2 separate regions of the Homo sapiens genome follow, and region 1 is linked to region 2. The links are contacts of gene promoters, found by promoter capture Hi-C in human tissues and cell types (Jung and others, 2019). All regions are on one chromosome and are shown on one strand. Each heading gives the region's core, a stretch centred on a gene start or on the middle of the fragment in contact. The rest is flanking DNA. Distances are from core to core; before and after follow the strand shown. Region 1 has its middle 22 kb from the start of ANHX. Region 2 holds the start of ZNF605 (zinc finger protein 605).

Region 1 (6,470 bases), core at 2,763-5,262, 300 kb before region 2:
ACAATCAATCTTAAAATTTTAATGTCTTGTGACCACAAATTTAGTGTTTTTTTTGCTCATGAGTTTGTGGGTCAGCTGAGGTTTGAGGGTCTTCACTCAGCTCGTCTGGTCTTAGATCCAGGTTCAGGTATGGCCCAGGCATGCTCTATCTGTCTTATTCTGAGGCTCAAGCTGAATGGGTTACAGATACCCAGGAGTAACTCGTGATGACAAAGCAGGAGAAGGCAAGGGCAGCCCCACAAACATTTCAAGACCTGCTTGTGTCAAATCCACTATCATTCCTTTGGCCAAAACAAGTCACATGGTCAAGGAAGTATACTCTGTCCAACCACAGGGAGTCACAAACTGGGTCTAACAATTCGGTCTGCAACCCCTGGCTTGTCAGTAATCTCACCTGAGAATCTGTCAGTTACCTGCTCCATATATACACATGAGAAAAAATTGTAGCTTATCCTTCTCCTGATTCCACTGTATTTAGAATAGAAACATCTTGGGACAGGGCTTGGATTCAAAGATTGGCCCCATCACCAGGATACATCATTTGTTCTTTGGCAGCTCTCTTTCCTCTTCTGCCAAATGGGAAATAAGAATTCTGTGAACAGATATGATAGAATACACATATAAAGACATTGGTCAGATATGATGTGTATGGAGATGAGAAGAGAGTTGTTTAAGCTTAATTTAACAAATTCCCCCTTTTGATCATCCCCTTGATTTTGAGAGATTGACCAAAACATTAGTAATTGATGTCACTATCATCAATGTAAATGTACTGATTTGGTCTTGAAATCCACTGTACAATAGCAGAACAGAGGGTTTTGTAAGGTAGGTACAAGGACATCAGGTTATTTATTTTGATAAGGGTTAGAGCAGAGGGTACTTCCTTGTGCTGGACTCTCCTGTTTACAGGAGATAAACAAAACCTTGTCAGTTCTAGGACCTATCTCTTTCCTTAAAGTCTTAGTTAAATTATGCCATATGTAGTATGAGTGACTCCATTTTGGTTTGGTCTGGTCTGTTGGGGCCTAGTGTATGAGCTCAGTTCAAAACAATGGCCTCCCATAATTTTGTTTAAGAATTACACCCTTTTTGTCAAGTTCTCACTTAGGTGAGAGTATGACTGGTATGGTTTGGCTCTGTGTCCCCACCCAAATCTCATGTTGAATTATAATTCCCAATGTTAGGGGAAGGACCTGGTGGGAGGTGGGATTGGATCATGGGGATGGATTTTCCCTCATTTTTCCTGTGATAGTGAGTGAGTTCTCATTAGACCTGATGGTTTAAAAGTGTATGTCACTTCCCCCTTTGCTCTCTCTCTCTCCTGTTGCCATGTGAAGATGTGTTTGCTTCCCCTTCACCTTGTGCCATGATTGTAAGTTTCCTGAGGCCTCCCCCACCATGCCTTCTGAACAGCCTGCGGAACTGTGAGTCAATTAAACCTCTTGTATTTATTATTTTTTCTTTGAGACAGTGTCTTGCTCTTTCACCCAGGCTGGAGTGCATTGGCACGATCTTGGCTCACTGCAACCTCCACCTCCCATCTTCAAGCGATTCTCCTGCCTCAGCCTGCCAAGTAGCTGGGACTATAGGCATGTGCCACCACAGCCAACTAATTTTTGTATTTTTAGTAGAGATGGGGTTTCACCATGTTGACCAGGATGGTCTGGATCTCTTGACCTCATGATCTGCCTGCCTTGGCTTCTCAAAGTGCTGGGATTACAGGCATGATCCACTGCACCTGGCCAAACCTCTTTTCTTTATAAACTACCCAGTGTCAGGTAGTTTTTTTGTAGCAATGTGAGAACGGACTAATACAATGACCAAAACTTGAGGATGGCAAGGGCATCTGAACTGTGACATTATGAACCCAAGGTTCAAGATCCTGAAGTTTTGCTGCAATGGGGATGGCAAGGGCATCTGAACTGTGACATTATGAACCCAAGGTTCAAGGTCCTGAAGTTTTGCTGCAATGGGGATGGCAAGGGCATCTGAACTGTGACATTATGAACCCAAGGTTCAAGGTCCTGAAGTTTTGCTGCAATGGGGATGGCAAGGGCAGTCTTTATCTGATGTTGTTCTTAGAAGACCCAGTCTCTAAGTTCTAGATTGTGAAGGGTTTGATTGTCCTCGGTCAGTAGACCATAAAAAAGATTTCTTTACCTGGTGAAAATACATCTTGACATAATGCATTAAAGCCTTGCAGCATTTAGTTATATCAGAGTTCAGTAGTGGAAGATAAATGAGGTTGTATTATTAGGGGAATAGGTCTTCCAGTGACTATTTTGTAAGGTATCACCTTATGGTTTACACTGGAAGTAGATCTGATTGCCATTAATATAAAATACCTTTGACCAAAGCAATCCAGTCATTTCAGTTAGCTTTACCAAATGTTGTCGTATTTATAATACCTTATTTAACTGCTTTAAAATTTGTCCAGTGAAACAAGTACTTCCATCACTGGAGATTTCTTCAGGAATGTCCCATGAGGAAAACACATTTTCTAATAACCTTTTTGCTACTGTTATAAAATTAGCCCTCTAGCATGGAAAAGTTTTTTCGGCCTAAAAATATATATATTTTTAATTTGGATCATTTTATTTCTTAGATAATGAGTCATGGAATGCAGAGATTTTAATAACAAAAGCTTTAAGGACTCAGGAAGATGAGGCAGCTGCTCTCCAGGAGCCCACACTTAACATTGGACTTATATCCTCTTAAATACTGATTGTTTCTCCAATTTAGGTGCATAGCACTGATAACCAATAGATTATCATGGGTAATTTGACTTTGACCATGGAGTTCATTTAAATTGCATATCTTAACAATTTAAGTACTAGCTGATTTAGCATGAACATCTGGCAAAATATTTTCTTGGTATTCAATTAGTTTTTTTCCTGCCTGGCTTAGTAGTTTTATAAACCAGCCAGTCTCTTCATTAGAGTTCCAGGAATTTTTACCCAATCCAAACGATGTGGTCCTAAAGTTATTAGAAACTTGTGTTTGAGAGCTTGTGTCAGGGTTCTTTCCATCCTTTCATGAATCTCCTTAAAGACACCATATTCTAGGATTTTATGTGCTTGTGAAGTTTTAAGAAACTGCATCAGAATTAAGCAATTAACTGTGGAAATGAATTTAAATGGTCATAAAGACAATTGAAAAGGAAATTTGGTTATTTCTGTGGTTTACAATAACTCAACATAATAACCAGAATTATGACTGATAGCATATACCCAGACATATTAGGATTTTAGAAATCCCACATAACTTTGGAACATATATTAATAACATATTCTTTAAGATATAACTTAAGAAGGTTAAGCCATCCTTTCTTGTTTGATAATGCTTCCCATGTAATTTCACATGTCAAATAATCCGTTTATCTCCCTTTTGGATGCTTCAGGGGACCTTTGTAGCATCCCAAAGTTAAAAGGTGAAAAAAGACTTAACTTTGAAGTTGAAATTTGATTTTTAGAAAGCCAATCAAATATGTCAAAGGTTTAAAACACTTTACCAAAATAAGATCACAGGTCACCATAAAATAATAGTCATTCTTTTAGCCAAAGTGATAATTAAAGGATTTTTTAAACAAAAACCTGTACTCTTTGAGAGAGGAGACTCAGTTTTCCAATCAAAAGATCTCAGACAGCATGAGACAAATTCTGTCTCTTCTCTTTTCTCTTATCTCTGTCTTTCTCTTTGCAGTTTACTCAAAAGGTGAACAAAAATATTTTACTTTGTCTTATTAACACTACATGAAATTTTTGTTCAGAAGAGAAAAACTAATTTTATTTTTGTATTAGTGCACTATACATATAAAGCTAATATTTAATAAAATCTTATAAATAAATCAAGTCTGTCATCTTTTGAACACATAAGATTTCTATAAACTCTATAAACCTTTTGTGTTTTATACTTTTCCCTAACTTTCTATATTTATCTAGTTTTATCTTTTTTTACTCCTTCAATTTGAAACCTTTAAGTAACTTCAAACTAGACAAGTTTTTTTAGCAAACACACATTTTTATGCCTTCATAACTTTCCCCATCAAAAGCATGTCGTGTTTTTGTTTTTGTTTTGTTTTGTGTTTTTGAGACAGGGTCTCACTCTGTCATCCAGGCTGGAGTGCAGTATTGTGTTTACAGCTCCCTGCAGCCTCAACCTCCCCAGGCTCAAGCAATCCTTCCACCTCAGTTCACCAAGTAACTGGGACTATAGACCCATGGCGCCCTGCCCAGCAAAAAATTATATTTTATAATTTTTTAAACAAAATATAATAATTTTTTAAACAAAAAATTATAATTTTTTAAACAAAAAATTATAATTTTTTAAACAAAAAATTATAATTTTTTAAACAAATTTTATAATTTTATAATTTTTTAATTTTTTAAACAAAAAATTATATTTTATAAGCACAGAGCTAAGCCTTTAGGCCTAAATAATGTATTATTTGGTCAAACAAAGGAAAAAAGGTGTAAGTAAAAGTTCACTTAAGACAAGATGGCCAGAAAAGAACTTTAAACAAAGGTATGATTTGTTGTGTGAATTTAAAAAAATGGTAAGAGTTTCTAATATACATACACAGACACCATAAAAATGGAGATTTCCTTTATAACTGTGAAATTATTTCACAAAAGGATTTAAAGGTAGCCAGCTAAATTCCAGAAAGGTGTACTTTAGTTTGACAGGTGGTCTTTTTTAACTTTGCTACTGTTTCTTAGCTGAAATTACTGAGTTTATGATGGAGGCCCTTAAAGAATAGGGCAAAGAAAGCACTTTCTATGCCTGGACTCAGCATGGAGAGATCTGAAAGAGAAGCAAGAACCTACTTTACCTGAGAGCTTACCTTTTAAAAACACTCTATCTAGGATAACTTTCTTTTCACCTTCGAGGTAGGATGATGACCAAGCCAAAAGGTTAGCAAATTTAATGTTTCTTATCAATTAGTCACTTGAGCTTTTTATTTGCTTTTTATAAAGAGTCTTTAAATAAAAATACTGAAATCTTTTTAGAAGCTTCTGCATATCAATAGGTATCCCTAGATGAGACTAATTCAGGAGCCCTCATTTTCAAGTGCACTTCTTCAAATGCAGTGTTGTTCATTTGAAATGTTCCACTGTAACTTTCACACTGAGCAATTCACACTGCGGATTGGATCTGTGTCCCCACCCAAATCTCATGCCAAATTGTGGTCCTCAGTGTTGGAAGAGGGACCTGGTGGGAAGTGACTGGATCATAGAGGCAGACTTCCACCTTGCTGTTCTTGTGATCATGAGTGTGCTCTCATGAGAACTGCTTATTTAAAAGTGTGTAGCACTTCCCCCTTTGCTCTCTCTTCCTCCTGCTCCAGCCACATAGAATGTCTCCTTCCTCTTTGCCTTCCACCATGATTGTAAGTTTCCTGAGACCTCCTCAGCCATACTTCCTGCACAGCCTGTGAACCATGAACCAATTAAACCTTTTTTCTTTATAAATTACCCAGTCTCAGATAGTTCTTTATAGCAATGGAAGAATGGACTAATACAGTGAGCTAATACCTAAATGACCCTCATTACTTTTGTTGAAAGAAAAGGCTTGGAAACTATCTGATCAGCATGGGATTTGTCACTCAGTCATCTCAGTCACTTCCCTGGATCAATATTTGTATTTTCAATTTGCCGTTAGTGTGCAGAGGCTGCACCTCCATCCCAAGTGCATCTGAAGGCAGTTCCCTCTAACCAATGAACACATGTGAAAGTTGAGAGTCTAGAAAATGACTCCCTTAAAACTATTCATGTCCCTGGAAGGTCTTCCCATATCCCCAACAACATGCATTCTCATTTGAAGACCACTGACTATTCCACAGCATAAATCAGCCAACATGATTTGTTGAGTGATCATGAAGTGCTGTAGCTTTCAGATATCACCAGCCCCACCCACTGAGATTCAAGGTGACTACTCAATTAAATGTCCTCTTTGATTCACTTTACCTTTCCCTGTGGAATAACTTGTTTAGGCCTGTTTACTAAATCCTGATGTAAGTCAACACCAAATTAGAGAAAATCACACTTTTCAAAAAACAAAAAACTTTAGATTGATTCTCAAATGCCAAGTTTGAAATTTTCCATAACACAAAATAATTTGGAAGTCTGATTAAAGTCAGTGGGAATGATGCAAAATCATTAAGTCCAATTTTTATTATTATTATTAGATCATTTCACTGCAGGACAGTTACTCCATAGCTAGTGTTTCTTAGGAAAGCATCTTTTAACCTCAAAATACATCTCACGAAGCAATGATATGCCTTTGAAAAGCAATGCTAAATAGACATTTTACAAATGGAATCATGCTGTCCACACATTAGGCAATTTATTATTAGAGCAATCCTAAGATTTTTTAAAAAATAAAGAGATGCCCTATGCTGAATGAAAAAGCTAATACTTTAATATGCTTTCTTGTCAAATGTTCATTTTCATATAAAGGGCTTTCTTGGC
Region 2 (5,680 bases), core at 1,412-3,911:
TTGAGCATGGAATTGGTTTGCTTAAATAAAGTTGAATCTCAGTTAGAAGCAGGGCAATGTGGGCTGGGTACGGTGGCTCAGGTCTGTAATCCCAGCACTTTGGGAGTCCGAGACGCATGGATCACCAGAGGTCAGGAGTTTGAGACCAGCCTTGCCAACATGGTGAAACCCATCTCTACTAAAAATACAAAAAGTAGCTGGGAGTGGCTGGGCGCAGTGGCTCACGCCTGTAATCCCAGCACTTCGGGAGGCCGAGGCAGGCGGATCACGAGGTTAAGAGATCAAGATCAGCCTGACCAACATGGTGAAACCACGTCTCTACTAAAAATACAAAAATTAGCCGGGCGTGGTGGCGCACGCCTGCAATCCCAGCTACTCGGGAGGCTGAGGCAGGAGAATCACTTGAACTCAGGAGGCGGAGGCTGCAGTGAGCCGATATTGTGCCACTGCACTCCAGCCTGGGCGACAAGAGCAAAACTCCATCTCTCACAGGCTCCAAATTTACTAATATAGAATTGAGCAAAATATTATTTCATATATACTTTAATTTGGTCTTTATGGCCATTTCAATTTTTTAAATTGCCAATTGTGAGTGTGTTTCCTGTTTCTCCCCATTTTTATTTTAAAAAACTAATATGCTTTTACAGTTTTTCTTTTTCTTTTTTTTTTTTTTTAGACAGAATCTCACTCTGTCTCCCAGGGTGGAGTGCAGTGGTGAGATCTCAGCTCACTGCAACCTCTGCCTCCTGGGTTCAAGCAATTCTCATGCCTCCACCTCCTGAGTAGGTGGGATTACAGGTATGAGCCATTACAGGCATGAGCCACCACACCTGGCTAATTTTTATATTTTTAGTACAGATGGGGTTTCACCATGTTGGTCAGGCTGGTCTCGAACTCCTGACCTCAGGTGATCCGCCCGCCTTAGCCTCCCAAAGTGCTGGGATTACAGGTGTGAGCCACCGCGCCTGGCCTGGCCAAAAAATATTTTTAAGAGAAGGTGTCTCCCTCTGTGGCCCAGGCTGGAGTGCAGTGTTGCCATCATAGCTCACTGCAGCCTCAACCTCCCAGGCTCAGGCAATCCTCCTGCCTCAGCCTCCAGTAGTTGGGACTACAGGGACAAGCCACTGCTTTATATATCCATAAATATATTTTATTTCCCTGTAATGTCCTCATCTCATTTATTTTTCCTTTTTTTTTTCTTGAGATGAGGTCTCACTCTGTTGCCAGGCTAGAGTGCAGCGGCATGATGGCTCACCGCAACCCCCGCCTCCCGAGTTCAAGTGATTCTCCTGCCTCAGCCTCCCGAGTAGATGGGATTACAGGCGCCCACCACCACGCCCAGCTAATGTTCTGTATTTTTAGTAGAGACGGGGTTTCACCGTGTTGGCCAGGATGGTCTCAATCTCCTGACCTGGTGATCCGCCCACCTCAGCCTCCCAAAGTGCTGGGATTACAGCCGTGAGCCACCGCGCCCAACCCTATCATCTATTTTCATTCCTTTTGTCAATACTGCTGGATTGGATGTACTAAATGTAAGGTCCTCTGAGCTGGCCGCACCATGGTCAAGCCATCGTGACATTCCCCCACCCTTGTGATAATGTACTTTGTAATATTCCCGGTCCTTGTGAATGTACTTTGTAACATTCCTCTCCGCCCTTGTGACAATACACCCTCCCCGCCCTTGTGAATGTACTTTGTAACATCCTCCCCTGCCCGCAAAAAATTGCTGCTGAGGCCGGGCGCGGTGGCTCACGCCCGTAATCCCAGCACTTTGGGAGGCCGAGGAGGGCGGATCACGAGGTCAGGAGATCAAGACCATCCTGGCTAACACAGTGAAACCCCGTCTCTACTAAAAATACAAAAAAATTAGCCGGGCGTGGTGGCGGGTGCCTGTAGTCCCAGCTACTCAGGAGGATGAGGCAGGAGAATGGCGTGAACCCGGGAGGCGGAGCTTGCAGTGAGCCGAGATCGCGCCACTGCACTCCAGCCTCGGCGACAGAGTGAGACTCTGTCTCAAAAAAAAAAAAAAAAAAAAAAATTGCTGCTGACTCCACCGCCTATCCTATCCCAAAGCTATAAGAACCAATGACAAGCCCACCACCCTCCGCTGACTCCTTTCTCAGACTCAGCCCACTTGCACCCAAGTGAATAAACAGGCGTGTTGCTCACACTTAGCCTGCTCAGGTGGTCTCCTATACGGACGCACGTAACACTAACATTTACCGATATTACTTACAGCTACGATGAAAAATGGAAAAGCAGCCGGACGCAGTGACTCATGCCTGTAATTCCAGCATTTTGGGAGGCTGGGGCAGGAGGATCATTTGAACCCAGGAGTCGGAGACCAGCCTGAGGCTGCAATGAGCGTTCATGGCACCACTGCACTCCCCACTGGGTGACAGAGCGAGACCCTGCCTCCAAAAAAAAAAAAAAAAAAAACAAGGAAAAGATGCAGACGCTTCCTCCTGGAGGCGCCTTTAGGTTCTCTCACAGACATGTTGGGCCAGCAGTGCTGGCTCCATCCTAGATTTCTTCCAGTCCTCCCCAGTTAGCCGCCAAGGGGCTTTTCCAACCGGAAACCTCCAATCCGCGACCCCGGCGGGTGCACCGCCGAGCCCCCCGGGAAGTGTAGTTCCAGCGCGAGCGGGACGCTGGGAAATGTAGTTCTGCGCGTTCACGTCCCCGATCGGGCCGTGTCCGCCGCGGCCCTGCGAGGTCCGAGGGGTAAGGGAGCGTGCAGCGGGGGCGGGACCACGAGGCGGCGGGGCTGGGGGCGGCCTCTGTGTCTGCGCCGGGGATCGCGGTGACCCCGCTGCGGACCGGCTCGCGGTGACCCCAGCGCGAACGAGCTGGCTGCCGGCTGGGGCGAGAAAGGCCTGCGGACCGGCCTGGGCGCATGCGCGGAAGGCGGGCCTCAGGCGGGGGCTCTGGGGGCGCGCGGGGGTGGGAGGCAGAGGGTGGGGTGGGGGCTGTAGGGCGGGCGGCGGCGGGGCGCTGAATGTGGGTGTCGGGGGAGATTTGGGGTCAGCTGGGCGATTCACTGGGGGCCTATGGAGGTCGCTGTAGACTTGGGGTGCAGCACGGGCGGGGCAAGGGGACGCGAGGTTGCCCTTGGCCCCAGGGGAGAGGGGCCCCTGGGAGGCCGTGTGGAGGATTTGTCTGCAGCGATTAGGACTCTGCTGATGAATGATTTGGATGCCTTTGGGTGAGCATTGGAGGCCAGCGGGGTGAATGATGAGGCTTCTGCGGGGGCCTGCGTTGGAGGGCTTAGGGGCTTGCTTGTGTGGGTTCCATTCACTGGAAAGCCTGCCGGCTGTGACAGTGTTGGATTTCACCAGAGCCCTGTGCTCCTGGAAAACAGCGAAGGTTGAGGAATTTCCCACCCTTTTGGGTTCCAGCAAATGGCTCACTGCAAAGATCTCCCGTTCCCTATATGACTTTGGTCAGCCTCCAGGATGCCCCTTGTTCACACAGACCTGCCACGTTGCCGTCGCTTGCCTCATCGGTGACTGGCTGAACTCCACCGAGCGGTCGGAGCAAAATGCTCCTTAAGCAAACTTTAGCTAAGCTTCTTTCCTTTCCCCATTTTCTTGAGCTTTGGCCCATCCCCAGCCTGAGCCAACACGCAGCCTCGCCTGAGAACAGGCTGGCTCAGGGTCAAGCTTTCCCCGCTCTGCTGTCTGGTCGCCCGCACTTCCACCTCGCTTGGCCAGGCCTGGTCTTTGCTAACCTTGTTCACACCTCTCTGTGAAAGAAAAACCCTTTTTGCCTTGCAGAGATGCACGTGAGTCTCGTGGCTTCACGGTTCTTCCCAGAAGCCCGTTCTCCTTCCCCTTCCCAACCCTCTTCCGCGTCTTTTTTTCCCCACTTCCAATAACCCTTTGGAACCGTCTTTCTTTGCTCTGTCCAGTTGTATGTTTTATTTGACAGCTGAATAACAGTGGTTGCTCTTTCAACCCCTGTCTCCAATAGCGGAGGCGAGTATGGGGTGGCCTATGCTGGCGAGTGGCTGGGGTTTGTTTCTGTGCTTGTGTTTGGGGATCTTATGATGGAAGCATTAGGAATGGCGCTGTGTATTTGTGACAAGGGAGTCTGGATGTAAGTTAATGGTGGACCTGTTGCAAGTTGTGAGTGCGTGGACAACGGGGGTCATACTTGGCGTCATTGGAGGGGCCTGCGGGATCGGCATTTGTGCAGAGCCCCACAATCCCTTTCCAGGTGGTGTTTGGGAGGGCCTGTGGGAATGTCAGTGAATGCTCCAGCATGGAGTGGATTAGAGAATGGGGTGTCATGGGGGCGAATGCTTGGGGGCCCCGGGGATAAGGGATTAGGGATCCCTGGGCATTGAGTGACTGGGGTCTAATTTAGGGGGTCTGTGGCGCAAGCCTCAGAATGTCAGTTACAGGGGAGGGGCTCTGTGAGCGCCTGACTTGGGCACCTGATGAAGTGAGTGAATGGAGACCAGTGTGTTCGTCCCAGGACAGAAGCCCCTTCTCCTCCCCTCCCCACCCTTCTCCTCCCCTCCCTACCCTTCTCCTCCCCCATCCTTCTCATCCCCTCCCCACCTCACCTGCAGGAGTGACTGAAGCCCCTTCTCCCCCGCTCCCCACCCTTCTCCTCCCCTCCCCAGCTCATCTGCAGGAGTATCTGAGTTCTGTGGGGATCCTTTGGGACTCAGAGTTTGGGGTTTCAGTCTGTGGTGATTCTTAAGTGGGGCTTTGGGGGTGCTGGTGATTATGGTGTCTGGCATCTGTATTTAAAAGCCCTGTGGGAGTCACTGAGGTCCAGTCATCAGTTGGGCCTGTAGGGATAACTCTGCCTGGCCTGTGAGGTCTATGGTGTGACGTAGGAATGGTAAGTGTCTGGGGGCCTGTGGAGGATTAGGAATAAAGGGTCCAGTGTACATCGTTGAATGGGGGACAGTTTTATTGGCTCGTGCCCTGGCATTGGCTTTGTTATTTGAGGGTGTTGGAACCAGGTGAGAAGGAGCTTGTTTGTATTAGTGACCGGGTACCAGAGATGACTGAATGACTGATGGGGTGGGCAGTGAGGTCTGTGAGGAGGAATGATCGGAGGGCTTGGGATCAATGCCAAGTATGCGTGCAAGTGTCTGTGATGGGTGTGCGGGTGGGTGAGGGTGAGAAATTGGGGACCCTGTGGGTGTCAGTGAGAGGGAAGCCTGGGGAGCCTAAGAGTTTGTTTGCCATTTGCGGTGAATGTGGAGTTAGAAGTTAGTGGCCTTAGCTGGGCACCGTGGCTCACACCTGTAATCCCAGCACTTTGGGAGGCTGAGGCAGGCAGATCAGGAGGTCAAGAGATCCACACCATCCTGGCCAACATGGTGAAACCCCGTCTCTACTAAAAATACAAAAATTAGCTGGGCATGGTGGTGGGCGCCTGTAATCCCACCTACTCAGGAGGCTGAGGCAGGAGAATTGCTTGAACCCAGGAGGCAGAGGTTGCAGTGAACCGAGATTTTGCCACTGCACTCCAGCCTGATGACAGAGTGAGACTCCATCTTAAAAAAGATAATAATAAGTTAGTGGCCTTTGGGTATCTGTGATTAGTGGTCTATACTGTGCCAGTCTGTGGAGTCTGTGGTCAGGTGTTTCTGGAGGCTGTTGTGGGGCCACTAGAGTTACCGCCTGGGGTCTTTGTTGGATGGTCACTGGGGAACCCA

What was found. Contacts are between HindIII fragments. The study calls those that stand out against the background at their distance.
Region 1: a fragment that was not itself captured here is called in contact with the fragment with the promoter of ZNF605 in region 2 in 2 of the 25 tissues and cell types used here (H1 embryonic stem cells and IMR-90 fibroblasts).

The regions. Positions count from the first base shown.
Region 1 is chr12:133,254,848-133,261,317 of GRCh38, reverse strand. No RefSeq gene overlaps it. Among named protein-coding and RNA genes, the nearest start is that of ANHX, 22 kb to the right of the region's middle. The HindIII fragment of the contact is 4,704 bases long and covers 1,661-6,364 here.
Region 2 is chr12:132,953,287-132,958,966 of GRCh38, reverse strand. It overlaps ZNF605 (zinc finger protein 605), which reads left to right and starts at 2,661. Exons shown (of 5, transcript NM_183238.4): 1 at 2,661-2,724. LOC124903064 (a long non-coding RNA gene) reads right to left here and starts at 2,418. Exons shown (of 2, transcript XR_007063552.1): 1 at 2,237-2,418. RefSeq lists enhancers at 2,451-2,530, 2,284-3,112, 3,390-3,684, 3,113-3,943 and a silencer at 2,691-3,030. The HindIII fragment of the contact is 15,452 bases long and covers 1-5,680 here.